3 separate regions of the Homo sapiens genome follow, and all the other regions are linked to region 1. Evidence: promoter capture Hi-C in human tissues and cell types (Jung and others, 2019). All regions are on one chromosome and are shown on one strand. Each heading gives the region's core, a stretch centred on a gene start or on the middle of the fragment in contact. The rest is flanking DNA. Distances are from core to core; before and after follow the strand shown. Region 1 holds the start of APOL2 (apolipoprotein L2). Region 2 overlaps MYH9 (myosin heavy chain 9). Region 3 has its middle 8.2 kb from the start of MIR6819.

What was found. Contacts are between HindIII fragments. The study calls those that stand out against the background at their distance.
Region 2: a fragment that was not itself captured here is called in contact with the fragment with the promoter of APOL2 in region 1 in 1 of the 25 tissues and cell types used here (adrenal gland).
Region 3: a contact is called between a fragment that was not itself captured here and the fragment with the promoter of APOL2 in region 1, in 1 of the 25 tissues and cell types used here (bladder).

Annotation. Positions count from the first base shown.
Region 1 is chr22:36,237,647-36,241,352 of GRCh38, forward strand. It overlaps APOL2 (apolipoprotein L2), which reads right to left and starts at 1,881. Exons shown (of 5, transcript NM_030882.4): 1 at 1,795-1,881. RefSeq lists enhancers at 808-1,322, 1,860-2,109, 2,120-2,169. The HindIII fragment of the contact is 12,319 bases long and covers 1-3,706 here.
Region 2 is chr22:36,299,309-36,303,014 of GRCh38, forward strand. It overlaps MYH9 (myosin heavy chain 9), which reads right to left. Exons shown (of 41, transcript NM_002473.6): 20 at 3,260-3,368; 21 at 2,226-2,357; 22 at 1,543-1,749; 23 at 819-956. Among named protein-coding and RNA genes, the nearest start is that of MIR6819, 14 kb to the left of the region's middle. RefSeq lists an enhancer at 648-1,847. The HindIII fragment of the contact is 3,060 bases long and covers 599-3,658 here.
Region 3 is chr22:36,276,823-36,280,528 of GRCh38, forward strand. No RefSeq gene overlaps it. Among named protein-coding and RNA genes, the nearest start is that of MIR6819, 8.2 kb to the right of the region's middle. The HindIII fragment of the contact is 4,206 bases long and covers 1-3,706 here.

The DNA.
Region 1 (3,706 bases), core at 631-3,130:
TGTGATTCTCCCGCCTCTGCCTCCCACAGCACTGAATTACAGGCCTCAGCCGTGGCACTGCACCCTTCTGAGGAATCTTCAGTGAAAAGCCACGGTCAAGTTCAAACCCCATAGCAGGGCACACAGGCCCTCTGATGCTCTGGACCCCACCTTCCTCACCGCTCCCTGCCACCACAGTCACCTTAGGTCCAGGCACCCACTGACGCCCTGCTTCGGTGCCTCCTGGAGCCCATCTACTCCTCCCACTCCCATCCCCAGCCTCAGGCCTTCACTCAGCTGCTCCCTCGCCCTGGAATGTCCCCCCCACTGTCCCCACCATGTGCAAGTCACCTGTCCTCAGAGACCCACCCAAAGCTGCCTGGTCCATGCGGCGGCCCCCAACCCTCCCCAGGCTCCCTGAGCACTCTGCTTTCCAGAGGGAGCTCTACCTGTATGTGGCTCTTTGGGCCTCTGTCTCCCCTTTAGACTCTGAACATTCAATGGGGACACTGTTGTGTTCCCAGCTGCACCCCCTACGACTGACCTGGATGCCCTCCGCCCTCCCTGGCACAGCCTGGCTGAAATCCCAGGTGCAGGAGGCATTACTTGAACTAAAAGCAACCAGCCTCTGGATGACATGGCCCAGCTTCAGTTTCACTTTCAGTTGAGAAATTGAATTTAATTTTTCTTTCTATCTTGATGGGCATCTCTTTTTGGTGAAGAACAAATAAGACCATGACTCATATTTCACAGAAATTACCCCCCTGATTTCATGGACTTTTGGCAGCTCTATCAAGTTTTTTAGAGGGGAAAAATCTTAGGCTGGGAGGGGAGGTGACTTGCCCAGAGTCACACAGCTCTTGGAGGGCAGAGGGGAGGCCAACATCTGCCCTTGTGACTCTGATATTGAAGCAAAAATGGGTGATTTTAATAATCCAACAGTGTCCAGGTTTGATTCTGCTTCTACAAACACAGAGACCTAAGCTCTCACTCCTGTAGTTATACTCACAATTCCACAGTGTGGCTTTTGAATCTCATGATTGCAAAGCTGGCATCATGCCACAGGTACCATTCTGCAATGCGACCTTCTCACTCCCCTGTCTCAGCCATGTTTCCCATTAGGGACACAGCACAGCCTGTTTCTTCTCTATCAGCTCAGAGGTCTGAACAGAGGGACAGAGGTGAGGGCCAGAGACGTGAAGTCCTATGATCTGCCTGCTCAGCCTCCTGACACGGGACCCTGGCAAGTCATTCCCCTCCCAGGGCCTCAGTTTCCCCACAGGGCCTGGCACAAGTAGGTGCTCAGACTCAGGGTGAGTGAGACAACCTCTGAGTTCCTTGTGTCTCAAAAGAAATCTGTTGTTCCCATTGGGCTTCAGCAGCAGCACCCTGGGGCCAGCCTGGGTGTGGCCCGGCCACAAGGACATGCCGGGCTCCAGGTCACCTCCCCTCCTCCACCTTCTTTGATTCCTTCAAATTTCCCAAAGAGATGGGCACCCCCAACACCTACCTTTCTTCTGGGGTCAGCTGGCCGTGTCTGAGGGTGTCAGAACCAGAGCTGAGCCCGGGGAGCTTTGTGAACCCATCTAAGCTGTTTTCCCCACCTCTCTCTACAGTTTACCCGCCCAGCAGGAGGGAGGGAGCAATCAGACTCAAGCCTGGGTGCAAATCCCGGCTCTGCCACTGCTTTCCTGTCTGATCTGAACCAGCTACCTAACCTCTCTGAGCTTATCTACAAAAGCTGAATGATCCTTCCCTTATAGAGCTATTGCAAGAATAAGGACATGGGGGTAGATCACACTATCCCCAACTTACCAAGGGATCTTCCTCTGACAGAGACTGAGCAAGATCCAACTGTTCTGAGCTGTGTGGATCCCACGTCCAGCTGTGCATCTGTGTAATAACCAGACACGTCCTCCGGCCTCCCAGATATACCCTGGAATTCGAAAGGGAAAGTGAAAGTCACAACTTCCCAGCAGCTCATGACCAAGCACAGTAAACACGCTGCTCCCCAGCACCACCTGCAGTCCAGGCCCAGCCTCCTTGCTGCTGCACTTAGAGGAGCAGCCGCAGACCAGACATCCGGGTCCCTCTCATCCAACCCACCTGCCTCACATCCTCAGGATTCAAGGTCTGCTGTGTCAGCTGCCCATGTCTCAGGCAGTCAGAACCAGAGTTGAGCCTGGGGAGTTTTTTGAACCCATCTGAGCCGCTTGCCCCCCAACCCCCGCCCCGATCTCTGCAGTTTAAGGGCACAGCAGGTGGGGGAGAGAAGTCAGACTCAAGCCTCAGTGCAATTCCAGGCTCTGCCCCTGTTTTACTGTCTGATCTGAACTAGTTACCTAACCTTTCTGAGCTCAAGAAAGACCTGCCACTGACTGACCGTGGGGCTCTCCAGATTACTCCCCGTCCTTCCGTTCCCCCACATTCCTCAGATGCCTGCCTTACTCCCACACATGCCATCAGCATCAGCACAGTCCCCCACACATGCTGGGTGGATGCTTATTGCATATTTATTGTAATGCTTCTGAGGTTATGTTTTCTGTTATGTTTTTGATATAGAGTCTTGCTCTGTAGCCCAGGCTGGAGAGCAGTGGCACAATCATAGCTACTTCAAGTGGCACAATCAAGCCATCCTCCCATCTCAGCTTCCGAGTAGCTGGGATTACAGGTGCCTGCCACTACACCCAGCTAATTTTTTGTAATTTTAGTAGAGATGGGGTTTCACCATCTTGGCCAGGCTGGTCTTGAACTCCTGACCTCAAGTGATCCACCTGCCTTGGCCTCCCAAAGTGCTGGGATTACAGGTGTGAGCCACGGCGCCCAGCCCATTGTATCCTTCTTGTGACTTTGTGTCTTCATAGCTTAGCTCCTACTAATAAATGAGAACATACAATATTTGGTTTTCCATTCCTGAGTTACTTCACTCAGAATAATGGTGTCCAACTTCATCCAGATTGTTACGGATGCCATTATTCCCTTCCTTTTTACAGCTGAGTAATATTCCATGGCATATACATATATAGGGGTGTGTGTGTGTGTGTGTGTGTGTGTATATACACACACATTTTCTTCATCCACTTGTTGGCTGATGAGCATTTAGGTTGGTTCCATATTTTTTCGGTTGCAAATTATGCAGCTATAAACATGCATGTGCGAGTATCTTTTTTATATAATAACTTTTCTCCTCTGGGTAGATACCCGGTAGTGGGATTACTGGATCAAATGGTATTCTACTTTTAGTTTTTTAAGGAGTTGCCATACTGTTTTCCATAGTGGTTGTACTAGTTTACATTCCCACCACCAGTGTAAAAGTTTTCCCTTGTCACCATATTCACACCATTTTAGCTAGGCTGGTCTTGAACTCCTGACCTCAAGTGATCCACCTGCTTTGGCCTCCCAAAGTGCTGGGATTACAGGTGTGAGCCACTGCACCCTTCTATTCTTCTTTGATTTTTAAATTATGGCCATTCTTGCAGGAGTAAGGTGGCAACTTATTGCAGTTTTAATTTGCATTTCTCTGATAATTAGTGACGTTGAGCACATTTTCATATTTTTTTGGCCATTTCATTTTGTATATCTTCTTTTGAGAATTGTCTATTCATGTCCTTTGCCCACTTTTTGATGGGATTATTTTTTTTTTCTTGCTGATTTGTTTGAGTTCCTTGTAGAAACTGGATATTAGTCCTTTGTCAAATGCACAGTTTGCAAATATTTTCTCCCACTT
Region 2 (3,706 bases), core at 879-3,378, 62 kb after region 1:
CCAGGTGACAGCTAGTGTCAGCAGGGACAGATGGCTCCACTCCTTCAAGAGGCTGCCACACGGCGCTCACCTGCGCCACCAGGCCACCTTCTCCGTGCCCCTCTCTCACCTGCCAGGTGGGCCACGGCCCCTCCCCCTCTTCAGCCCCGCGGTGCCCCGGGCTGCTCTCCTTGCTTTCTGTTCTGTGTGGCCCCTGCAACACCCCTGCCCAGCGGCCACAGCTCGGCACAAGCACCTGAGTCCCCTCATCCCAGTCCCGGGTGGGCGTCCTGCCACCTCAGCCTCCCCAGCCTTTGGGGCTCCCATGTTCTGAGGAGGCCCGAAAGGTGGGGAGGCTGCCTTCTCCTGCCTTCTCCTCTAACTGGTTCCCCGGCTGCTATCTGCTCCCTGGGCAGACACCGACAGGGACCCAACTCATTCTCAAGAGGAATAGCTGCCGCCCAGGGACAGTGGAGGAAGAGTACCCCGTATCTCAACACAGAGCCACCAAGGTGTCCCCAACCCCACAGTGACCAACACTTGCAATGCTGCACAGATGGCCACCTTTACACAGGCTCGGGTCTCACGGCTGGCAAAGAAGAGCTTTCCAGAGGGGAAAGGACAAACCCTTCCCCAGGGCCCCTTTGCTTATGAGGAAATCCCTCAACTAAGGCCCATGGGACCTCCAGGGAGCACTTGCAGTTAAGCAGAAGCCCTCATGCTGCAGGCAGAAGAGACAGGAAGCAGCAGCAGCGGGGAGCCAGGCCCTGCAAGGGTGACCACACTCTCCCATCCACGGCGCCCCTGGAGCAGCGGCAGGCGACAGCCACGGGCCTCACCTTGGCCAGCTTGCAGTTCTGGTCCTCCAGGATGATCTGCTCCTCCTCCAGCTTTTTCAGCTTCGCCTCGGTGGTCACCTTCTCCAGCTGCAGCTTCTGCCGGGCGCTCTCCTCCTCCTCCAGCTGCTCCTCAAGCTCCTGCCGGGGGCCAGAGACACGGTAAGGACAGCAGGCCCAGAGGCATGGCCAAGGTGAAGGCAGCAAGGTCCGAAGGCCAGATCCAAACGCCAAGGAGAAAATAGCAAGGTCTGTGAGCCCAGGGCCATGGCTGAGGTGGGGACGGCAAGGTCCGCCAGCCCAGGGCCACAGCCGAGGCAGGGCCCAAGCCCCATTTGTAGGATTCCAGATTTCAAACTGGGACACAGGGCCAGAACATCGGTGCAATGTTCTGAAGGGTTTCCTGCAGCAAGCTCCCACCCATGAAACAGGCAGGACGCAGAGGTGCTGGCCCTGTGCCCCTTCGGCTAGCCAGGGCCAGGGCTAATGGCAGGGAAATCAAATTGGCCTTGATGCTGGCCCAGGCAGTGCTCATGGAGATCTCAGATGCACATGTCACAAACTACCAGCCCAAAGGGAACACCTCTCACTGAGAGCCCCAAGCAGATTGCGTGAGGAGCAGCCTCCTTGGACCCTAATTCCATGTTCTCCCAGCTCCTGGTTCCTGCTCCTCCGCCCCGCCCTGCCCCTCCGGCGCCACCCCTCCCCGGGTGCAGCGGGCAGGAACCTGGATGTTCTGCTGCATCTTCTTCTTCTCCGCCTGCAGGTGCTGGCAGCGCTCCTCCTCCTCCTCCACCCTGGCCTCTAGGTCATGGCAGATCTCTTCTAATTCCTGCTTCTTGGCGGTCAGGCGGGCCCGGAGCTCCTCAGCCTCGGCACACAGCTCGGTTTCTGCCTGGAGCTGCTCCTGCAGCTGCAATTTCTCTGCCATGAGCTGCAAACAACAAGTGGAAAACACAAGCTCCTCGCAACACCCTCAAGCCACTCCATCCTCAAGGACGGACGCCATGGCTCGGGATCCCAGAGGGAAAGGAACATGCAGACAAAAGTAGCTTTCATCTGGAGAGCTCTGAAGCTTCCAGGTACCTTCCAGACATCGTGTCCTTGATTTTTCACTACCCCATGAGCTCCAGAGCAAGGTCCCAGGAAATGGGCTCAAGTCATGTGGTAGAGCTGAGGTTTGAACCCAACACTTGTGAACGTTCCACTCTATTAAGTGGCCTCCCTACATCACTTAACACCCAATGGGGTCTGCAGAGAGACTGGTCACTGTTTACAGTAATAGGAAACTCAGTTGTAGAAAACTCCTATAGTAATAGAAACTTCCAGCATGCCGTGCCTACCGATGGCCAGCAGGTGGCAGCACCAGGCAGGTCGTGCGACCTGGACTGAGCCTGCACTGACACCCACCTGAGACTGCAGCGTCTCCATCTCCGTGAGCCTGTTCTCCGCAGCCAGCTGCTTCTCTCTGACCTTCACCAGCTCCTCCTCCTTGGCCATCATCTCCTCCTCCTGCCGGCTCACCTGCAGCAGCGGCTTGACCTGGGAGAGGAGATAGAGGTAGAGACATGCTCGGCTGGAAGATGCCCGCCTCTGCCAACAGGTGTGAGGCCTCTCCCTCACCTCTGGAAACATGAAAGTGAGGGGCAAGAAGACACGCTGTGGTGGGGGCTGCAAGCAGGCACATCCTTCCTGGCGCTCTGTACCACGGGCTTCTGACCCGCTAACTACATTCCAGGGAAACTATCCCTGCGTGTGCGTGAAGATGTTCACCTCGGCATTGTTTATCACAGCAAGAAAATGAGGAAGGACCCATCTCTGAAAAAGTACCCAGATAATGATGTGTTCCCTAGGGAACAGCACACTACCTCTAAAAAAACGATGCTTATGAAGGAATCATAAATGGAACGTACGAACTACAACTGTTTATATGAGTCAAACTCAGCTATGGAAGAATGTATACTGTTTACATAGCTGAGGTTTTATAGGCAGTGAGAAAAAGAGCGAGAAATTAAACACTAAAATAGCTGCTGCTGTTGGTTTAGGCTAAGGGTTTATGTGTGAATTTTTATTTAATTCTTTAGGCTTTTTGTGAGTTGGTTTTTCGCCATTACCATAAATTATGTATTATACACAAAAGCAGCCCGGACAAGTTTAAAAATAAAGAGATTTTTTTTTTAAAGGCCAGGAAGGTCAGCCTGGGCAAGATAGTGAGACCTTGTCTCTACTAAAAATCAAAAAGGGCCGGGCACAGTGGCTCATGCCTGTAATTCCAGCACTTTGGGAGGCTGAGGTAGGAGGATTGCTGGAGCCCAAGAGTTTGTGACCAACCTGGGCGACATGGTGAGACCACACCTCTACAAAAAATACAAACAATTAGCCAGGTATGTATGGTGGTGTGCACCCGTAGTCCCAGCTACTCAGGAGGCCCTTCTAGCACGCACCTTGGTGAAGAGCCGCCACCACTGCCAGTTCCGCAGCTTCAGGTAGGCAGCGCAGTTCCGCTGGAGGACCTTCATGGCGGTAAGCTGCTGCTGCCGCTTGGCAAATGCTCTGTGTGGTGAGGAACATGGTCAGCGCGGAGCAGTGGACAGCAGACCCGACCTAACAGTCCTGGTCTTGTCCTCAAGCTTTTCTGGGGGTCTACCCTTGCCTGGGGCACCTCAAGAAAGAAATTCAGGGAAGGGGTCTGGCCTTGGGGTTGAGATAAGTTTCTCCCACTTACAGGCTGTGTGACTCCATGAGGCACTAATCTTACAGTCGGTGAAGGACCTAGGTCACCAGACTACCCCTCCACTGAGGTGCCCATGGGGGTGAAGGCACGTGTGAAGTAACCACAGATCCTACTCAGTGTGGGGACTGAGCGTGACCCTTGGTGATTAAGCTGACTG
Region 3 (3,706 bases), core at 577-3,076, 39 kb after region 1:
CCCACCAAACCACAACCATGCAGAATGAATCACAGCCCTGCACAAAGGCCACCTCTATGAGGACATCTGCCCAACAACTGTCTGTTTAACCTTGAGCTAAGGTGACCCTTGTTATTAATTCTTGTACCTAGGGATCATTATTTAAAATAACTTACATAATTCTCCCCATTTTGGCTTTAAAAACCTCTGCTTTCAGCCGGGCGTGGTGGCTCACGCCTGTAATCCCAGCACTTTGGGAGGCTAAGGCGGATGGATCACCTGAGGTCAGGAGTTCGAGACCAGCCTGCCCAACATGGAGAAACCCCATCTCTACTAAAAGTACAAAATTAGCCGGGCATGGTGGCACATGCCTGTATTTCCAGCTACTTGGGAGGCTGAGGCAGGAGAATTGCTGGAACCCGGGAGGCGGAAGTTGCAGTGAGCCGAGATCGCGCCACTGCACTCCAGCCTGGCTACAAAGCGAGACTCCGTCTTGGGGCAAAAAAAAAAAAAAAAAAAAAAAAAACACCACCTCTGCTTTCCTTTGTCTCCCTGAGTCGGCCTGTGGTCCCACCATGGGGTGTCCTGGCACATCATGTATTCCCAGATTTACAAATCCTTCTGCTCATTCCAGAATAAACTTGTTATCTTCAGAGACTCCCTTTCTGTTGTTATTTTAGGTTGACGACAGACTCCCTGAACGTAATCTCATAGTGGAGCAACCAGAATGGGGACTGCAGACTCAAATCCAGGTGAGAATCAGGTGTCTCTTAACTTCAGGGACGTGGGACGTGAGCAGAGACCATCCATTTGGAGATTCCGAGGATCTAGTGACTAAGAATAGGGCTCAGTTTCACCATCAACACCGCAGGAAAATTCACCCAGGATGTCTGCAGCTCCAGAGGAGGGGGCTTGGGCCAAAATCTTGGGTCCATATGCAATTTCGGCCACTGAGAAGGCAAACCCAACTCGAAGGGGGAAATGAACCCTGAAATTGCTTTGGAAGATGTGCGGTGACATCGCCAGCACCACCTAGTGGAAGCTGGAAGTGTGGACAGCCCTCCTCACAGCCACCACCCCCACCCCGCCCTGCCCCGCCAATGGAGAGGTGTGCTTGGCCAGGTCATGCCCGATGTCATTGTCTGTGTGCACCATGACAGGGACCCCAGCGCCCTGTTCTGCTCTTTTTCAAGGCACCCTGGAAGGAGGTGGCGAGCTTCAAGCTGGGCATTTGACAATGGGGGCTTCTGAAGGCATCAGTGGCTAGCGGAGACAAACAAGCCTAGGACTGCAAAGTGCAGGGGAAGGGAATTGTGTTTCATGCCCACAGCCCCTGGGGACCCCATAGGAGGCTGAGGGAGCAGCCACTGGTCCCGGCCACTCACAGCCCGGCCACTAGCAGTGTCTCATGGACAATCCTTTTTGTCTTTCCTCATATGGAAAAATTGGGCCCTGAGTAACAGGTGTCAGCTTCAGGAAGGTTCAGAAGTAGGTATAAAAATGACAAACACAATCAAGCTCATATTTTCCTGCTGAAGTCTAGACAAATGTGTGTTTCATTTTGATGCACATATAACATTTAAGAGAACTGGACTCATACACAGAGTTAACAGAGTAGTTTTTGGATTCAGATTTGAAATAGGTAATCGAGTAATTGATATAGATGCAGGATTTCAGCTTGAATGCCTCTCTGCTAGTAGGTACTGAGGGTGCTGCAAATAAGCTTTAGCCCAGGGAGAGGGAGAAGCATCTAGCTCAGTGGATCCCAAACAGGAGAAATGAGGAGTGGAGGGTAGGGAGGGTGCTGTGAGCACCCACAGCAACAGGATCTCTGGAACATGCACCAAGGGACATGCGCCAACCTCTATCCCCTTCCCTCCAGCAGCCAAGAGACAAAGGAGACTCTTGTCTGGAGTCATTGCGGTGCCAAAGCATGACCTTAAAAATGATAGCAACTTAGCTGGGCGTGGTGGCTCACGCCTGTAATCCCAGCTCTTTGGGAGGCCGAGGTGGGAGGATCACCTGAGGACCTGAGGTCAGGAGTTCGAGACCAGCCTGGCCAACATGGTGAAACCCTGTCTCTACTAAAAATACAGAAATTAGCCGGGTGTGGTGGCAGGCACCTGTAGTCCCAGCTACTTGGGAGGCTGAGGCAGGAGAATCATTTCAACCCGGGCGGCAGAGGTTGCAGTGAGCTGAGAGCGCACCACTGCACTCCAGCCTGGGTGACAGAGCGAGACTCTGTCTCTAAATAAATAAATAAATAAAATAATAGCACTTAGCTGCTGTGGAAAACTATATGACGGTTCTTTGAAAACTTAAACATAGAATTACCATAGGATCCCTCAATTCCACTTCTGGGAATATACCCAACAGCATGAAAACAGGGACCTGACCAGATATTTGTACAGTCATGCTCATAGCAGCATCGTTCACCATAGCCAAATGGTGGAGGCAACCCAGGTGTCCATTGACAGATGAACGGATAAGCAAAATGGTACGTGTACCCACAGGGAATATTATTCCGCCTTAAAAGAGGAAGGAAATTCTGACCCATGCTGTAACAAGGATGAACCTTAAGGACATTCTGCTAAGTGAAATAAGCCCGTCACAAAAGGACACATGCTGTATGATTCCGTTCATGTGAGGTTCTTACGGTGGTCAAATTTATAAAGATAAGGAGCAGAGTGTTGGTTGTCAAGGGCTGGGGGAGGGAGAATGAGCAGTTCATGTTTACTGGGTACAAAGTGTCAGTTTTGCAAGAGAAGAGTTCTGTGGATGATGGTGGTTGTGCAACAATGTGAATGTAATTCCACGAAACTGTTCACCTAAAAATGGTTAAAAAGGCAATTTTAGGTTATGAATATCTTACAGTTAAAATCTTTAATTAAAGTCCTTTCAAAGCCCAACCTTTGCAGAAAAAAAATTATAGCACCTGAGCCCTTTTTGGTTTGCAGAACATTTTCACACACATAGTCATACATGCTTCAACGACGGCCCTGTGATAAAAACATTTATTAATTTGGCTTCCCAGAGGAGAAAACTAAGGTTCAAATGGGGTGAAACGGCCAGGTGTGGTGGCTCATGCCTGTAATCCCAGCATTTTGGGAAGCCGAGGCAGGTGGATCTCCTGAGGTCAGGAGTTCGAGACCACCCTGGCCAACATGGCAAAACCCCATCTCAACTAAAAATACAAAAATTAGCCAGGTGTGGTAGTGCACGCCTGTAGTCTCAGCTACTCAGAAGGCTGAGGCACGAGAATCACTTGAACCTGGGAGGCACAGGTTGCAGTGAGTCAAGATCGCTCCACTGCTCTCCAGCCTGGGTGACAGGGACTCTGTCTCAGAAAAAAAAAAAAAAAAATCCAGGTGTGGTGGCTCACGCCTGTAATCCCAACACTTTGGAGGTCAGGAGTTTCAGATCAGCCTGACCAACATGGTGAAACCCTGTCTCTACTAAAAATACAAAAAAATTAGTCAGGCATGGTGGCGGGCACCTGTAATCCCAGCTACTCGGGAGGCTGAGACAGAAGAATAGCTTGAACCTGGGAGGCGGAGGTTGCAGTGAGCTGAGATTGAGCCACTGCATTCCGGCCTGGGTGACAGAGTGAGACTCCATCTCAGGGAAAAAAAAAAAAAAAAGATTCTGACAAAATGCCATGAAGATCGTTTGTAGATCTTGTCTTGCTAAAGTGGAGTTGGATTCAGAGGGTTGGGGGCGGGGTCTG